Regions from separate parts of the Homo sapiens genome. Here region 1 is linked to region 2. Evidence: promoter capture Hi-C in 16 types of primary human blood cells and fetal thymus (Javierre and others, 2016). All regions are on one chromosome and are shown on one strand. Each heading gives the region's core, a stretch centred on a gene start or on the middle of the fragment in contact. The rest is flanking DNA. Distances are from core to core; before and after follow the strand shown. Region 1 overlaps RELCH (RAB11 binding and LisH domain, coiled-coil and HEAT repeat containing). Region 2 holds the start of ZCCHC2 (zinc finger CCHC-type containing 2).

Region 1 (2,700 bases), core at 69-2,568, 240 kb after region 2:
CTGTAATCCCAACTACTTGGGAGGCTGAGGCAGGAGAATCACTTGTACCCAGGAGGCAGAGGTTGCAGTGAGCTGAGATCATGCCATTGCACTCCAGCTTGGGTGACAGAGCGAGACTCTGTCTCAAAACAAAATAATACAAAACCATCCACTAATATCAATACTGATTAATTCACAATAACTAACTTGTTTCATGTTTAGCTTTCAGTACACAAGAGTACACAAGGCTTTCAGTACACAAGGCTTTAACACATGACAAATGCACCAAAATTTTAATACATGACAAGGCCTCAGAGGAGTGTCTAGCTTTGATCTTACATTACAATTCAGGAAAAAGGTAGAAAAATGCAACTTACACTCATCTCGGAACCTGGGTTCTGCGTTAGGGCCAACTCTACCAAATGTTTTTATGATCTCTGTATGCAAAGAATGTTGGTCTTGATACTGAGGATCTTCCAGGAAAGAAGCCAACTGCATTTTCACTCTTTCCAGCAACTTAAAATTGGATATTGTACAGTCATTTCATAGAATATTGAAAACTGAGTAGTGTTGTTAAAGTGAAAGACACACATTAAACATGACTTAAAGCAGTGGATTAAAGCAACCTATAGTCCAATGACAGTAGAAATTTGGAATTAAATAAATAGTTATTTAATCTTTTGGCTCAGAGAAGGTTTCCTACTTTTGCTTATGCTTACAAATTCTTAATTAAAAAATACAAATATTCCTGAACAAATTATAACAACAAAAGAAAAAAAATCCCACCGTATTTAGGGAAAAGTAGGTAACTTTATGATTATTTTGTATCTAAATTATAATTCTTAAAACAAATCACACTGTAAGTTACCCAATTATTCACCTTCTGAAAGCAATGAGTCATTAATGACTTACATCTTACTCACATTTCCCTAAAAGACATTTTTATTTTAGGTTTTGAGAACATGTTGAAATTCTGCCAAGACTGCAAGCTTTGCAGAATGATGTGCTTTTCCTCTGTGGCTTCACCAGTGAAATATATAAGTGAAAAAATGGAAAATATTCTTTCTGTAACTAACAAAACTTTAGTTTTTGTCATGAAAAATCTATATGACAAAGGAGTTTTATTAAAACTTTTTTCTTTTGGGTAATATGTCCACAAATAATATATGTGCTAATCTACAGGGTTTTTTCATTTGTATAAGGACATATCCAATATAATAACAAAGAAATAAAAATCTGATATCAATTTTGAGAAGTGTCTTATAGTTAGTGTTGCAAATAGAATCTAAAAAACTTGAAATTAGTTTCAGAATTAAAATACACCTTTAAGAAGGAAGACCTTGGTGGTCTCCTGAAACAGGCATGACAGAGGGTCTGCCCAGAGATCTACTCTGCAACAAGAGGATACCAGTCTACTAAATCACTTTTACAGCTTCATACCAATGACACAGTTATCAGAATACAAGTGCCCTCTTGCCTTCATTTATAACTGAGATACATTTGTGTTCCTAATGATGTTATCTGGGAAAACAGTCCTCAAATCTGTGCAACACTGGCAATCAAGAATTTATGTAGATTGGCCAGAAGCCTACCGGGTAATAGAAGGCTTTGGAACTAGACCTGATTTGAAGGATTATTCAAAACTGCAACATCCAGCTCAGCTTACAATAGAACATCTAGCAAGCTTGTCCAATACACCTTATTTTGTTGTTGTTCTGTTTTGTTTTGTTTAAGGCTTTTAGCAGCCTGAAGCCGGGGTTTTTAGTTTCTGTCTCTAGTGATAAGTAGAAAAGAGGGAAGAGGAAGGGGCTTTACTGGCCCAATCAGAAAGAGAAACTAAGAACCCATGACTATATTCTCTCCCTTGGACATCCCTGAAAGCTTGGCCTATACTTAATGTTCTGACTGAGAGGAAAGACTAGAGATTTCCTTAGGATATGGAAATATACCTTGGTTAGGCTACCATGTTTTCACAGTGAGATCCTCCTCTGGCCTGTAACTAACTAGGGCACAAAATAAAAGGTAAGATGCTCCCTGCAGCCTACCACCAGATACATGTATCATGACCACATCAATATTACACAGACATAAATAAATTTCAATTATTCCTACCTCTCTTTGAATTACTGTTTCCATAATAGTGCCAAAGGCTGGAATTGTGGCAATCCTGACAGAGCTGTTAGAATTAAAACAGAAAGAAACTGAAGATTTGAGATGAACAACGAGTATTATTAAAATGTATATTAAAGTAAGTACAAGGTAAATATACTGTATTAGTCTCTAGCAATGACAAATTAAATAAATTTAAAAAAAGCAGACCAAGAAGAATGCTCAAAAAGACAGACAGGATAACTTAAGGTCGCAGTCTGTGAAACTCACAATTCAGGATCACTGGACAAGGTAACAAGGGCCGGAGCAACCCGCTTGTCAACTAACGCTTCACTCATGCCTCGAAGAGTCAGCTGTAAACCAGTCAACATGCAATAAAAAATGGTTTGGTAAACTGGAATAAGAACTGGGTTAGCTGTGACTGAGGATGGGCAGGCAGACTCATTGGCCTTTCTTGGTTTAGTCATCCACACGAGACATTAAAATGTTAGGCCATTGGTTCATGCTACTACACTTACTGGTAACAACCTGTTAGTGAGATTAGGAGAGCATCCCTTCTTGGCTTGAAAGAAACAGTCCATCAGCATATTTTAGGTTCTGGAAGTATTTATT
Region 2 (2,700 bases), core at 27-2,526:
GCGGAGCGCGGCGCGGAGCCTCTCCAAGTGTTCCCTCAGGGTGACCCGCTGGTGGAAGGAGAAAGCCGGGTGCAGCGAGGCCATGGTGAAGAGCAGCAGCAGTTCCTCCTGGGCCCTGGAGCCAAGCCCGCCGCCGACCCGGGGCTCCACAATGCCGCCTTCCGGGCCTGAGCCGTCCTTCTCGGCGTCCTGCTCGCCGTCGCCGTCCTCGCCGCGCTCGTCCTCCGCGCCGCCCCGCGAGCCCTCGCCCCGGGCCGCGCGCAGGCTTTTGAGCACCGAGTCCACCTGGGGTAGCAGGCGGTGCAGACGGCCAGCGGCCTCCCGGTTCTCCGAGCCCAGCAGCGCCAGGTAGACGATGAGGCGCGAGCGCACCGCGGGCTCTCGGAAGTCGGCCAGCGGCCCCGGGTCCGAGAGGCCGTTGGCCTTGGCCTCCGAGTCGCGCAGGTAGTGGTAGTCCTTGCGCGCCAGGTCCTCCAGGCACGAGCCAAGGAAGCGCAGCTCCAGCGGGTTGCACAGGTCCAGCAGCCCGCACATGAACTCCAGGCGCTGCGCCGAGCCCAGCACCAGCCCGAACCACTCGTATACCCGCTCCTGCTCGCGCAGCGCCGCCGAGGGCCCCCCGCCGCCGCCCGGCATACCCGCCCCCGCCGCCGCTCCACCAGCAACAGGCGGCCCGAGTCCCCGGGGCGGCGGCGGCGGCGGCAGAGGGCCCCGCGACGGGCCCGCGGGCGGCGGCGGCGGCGGCGGGGGGCGGCAGTCGCGGCGGCGGCGCGAAGGCGCCTTCGCGCCCGGCCGCGCGTCCGCCTCGGGCTCCTCCGCCTCGGGCGGCGGCTCCGCGGGGTGCGTTGGCTTCAGCGGCAGCTTCATCCTCAGCATCCTCGGCTAGGGCGGCGCAGACATGCGAGCGGGGGCGGGCGGGAGGGGCCGCGAGGTGGAGCACGGGCCGAGGCGGCGGCGCGGCCGTCAGGAGCGGGGCCCCTCCATGCCGCCGGGGGAGGGCCGGGGCCGGGGGCGGGTCTCGGCCGGCGAGGGGGGCGGTGGCCGGCCGGCGGGGTCGCTGGCGTCGTCTTCCCGGGCTGGGGGCGGGGCGTGCCCGCGACGGCTCCTCCCCCTGGGCTCCTCGCCGGTTCTGGGAGCCCGGGTGCGGGTGGGAGCAAGCGAGCGAGGGTGTCCTCCTTCCGCCTCCCTCTCTCCGCCGTCCGCGCTGAGCCGGGGCGGCGGTGCCTGAGCTGTTCCCTCGCGAGCCGGTGAGGACGGAGCGGCTGGGTGAGGAGGTGGAGCAGCCGGGCCGGGCGGAGAAGCTTGCGGGCTCCGCGCACCTCACCTCCGCCAATCAGCACCGCGAATCGACGGTGACGTCGCTCTCCCCGCCCCCTGGGGGGCCGCCTTTCTCCAGGAAGCCACGCCCAACTGCTGGCCGGCCGCCTCCCTCTCGGCGGCTTCCGTGCGGTCCTAAAGGCTGGTGCTCGGCAGGAGGAGGACGCGGGCTGGGGCCGTGGGGCGGCGTGAGGGTAGCCCGGGAGCGGTGAGGAGCGTGCGAGGCCCACGTGAGCGGAGGGACGCGGCCGCTCTCACCTTTCCTGAGGGCCCTGGCCCGGCTTTGGACTCCTGATTCTCCTCTGCTTGCCAGCTGCCGCCCCGCCTCCGCCAGTGGTGCCCGGGCTGCCTGCGCGGCCGGAGTGAACGCGTCCCGGGAGCAGGGGTTTCTCCGAAGTGAGTGCGCCAGCCCCGGGACGAGCTCGTTCGAGTCCTCACCGCCCAGTGCACTTCCTGAAAGCCGGCGGTGGGCTGTCTCCCACCTTGTGAAACTTTGCCAGGTGTCGCTCACAGGGGACTGGGTCCGGACGCGGGTGGCGGCGCTGGTTTGCGGCCCCGGTTTGCGGCCCCGGCGCCGCGATCCCGGGCCGCGCCCACGCCCAGGCTGGAGGCACCGTGCGCAGGTGGGGACGCGCGGCCGGGAGGTGCGCAGCGGGACCCGGCCGGCCGAGGGTGAGCGCTGCTGGGGACGCTCCTAGTCTGTAACGCTCTGTGAAAATTATTTCCTGGATAGTTTAGGAAAAGCCTCTCCCTTCCCCGCCCCTAAACCTCTATCTTTTGGGAATCATTGATTTGCTAAATGACATTTCGGTGCCTAACCCATTTTGAATCCTTGTTCTGCTGTGAATTTCATGTGACTGGAGGAATTTAATAAGCTACCAACTTGACAGGCTTTAAACTTAAAAAAAAAAAGTTTTGTTACGTTTTTCAGATTTAGGCTTCCAAGATGTTTACACTCGCACTGTTACTTTTTTTTTTTTTTTTTTTTTTTTTTAGCAACATAGTCCAAATTTTTAAAACTCAGCTGGATCTTTTGAGGGTTAATTAAAAGGTGGGTTAAAAAAAATCTTAAGACTTTAAATTTAGAAGTCCTACTACAGCTATGTAGTAGGAGTATGCAGAAAGATAAGAATCACATTGTAACTCTTTGCGGTGGTGCTGGAACATCTGTTGGGAGAGCATATGCTGAACTCTGTTCACCTCACAAGTTTATGTCCTAAGAGGCTCATTCACAGTTCAGTAAAAGGGTGAACTGAAGCCTGAATCAGTTTCGGGGATGAAAGGGTGAGAGGGAGAACTGTTTTCAGCACATTTGAGGTTGGCAAAATATATAAAAGTCACTCTTTCTTGTAATTTGCTAGTTCTTTACAGTCTTTAGATGTA

Evidence for each region. Contacts are between HindIII fragments. The CHiCAGO score rates a contact against its expected background, and 5 or more counts as called.
Region 1: a contact is called between a fragment that was not itself captured here and the fragment with the promoter of ZCCHC2 in region 2, in 2 of 17 cell types (M2 macrophages and M1 macrophages). The highest score is 5.6, in M2 macrophages.

Annotation. Positions count from the first base shown.
Region 1 is chr18:62,280,101-62,282,800 of GRCh38, reverse strand. It overlaps RELCH (RAB11 binding and LisH domain, coiled-coil and HEAT repeat containing), which reads right to left. Exons shown (of 29, transcript NM_001346231.2): 24 at 2,092-2,155; 25 at 357-495. Among named protein-coding and RNA genes, the nearest start is that of TNFRSF11A, 44 kb to the left of the region's middle. The HindIII fragment of the contact is 695 bases long and covers 971-1,665 here.
Region 2 is chr18:62,521,601-62,524,300 of GRCh38, reverse strand. It overlaps ZCCHC2 (zinc finger CCHC-type containing 2), which reads right to left and starts at 1,276. Exons shown (of 14, transcript NM_017742.6): 1 at 1-1,276. The coding sequence starts at 876. RefSeq lists an enhancer at 1-567 and silencers at 883-1,382, 1,413-1,682, 1,913-2,022. The HindIII fragment of the contact is 5,111 bases long and covers 1-1,303 here.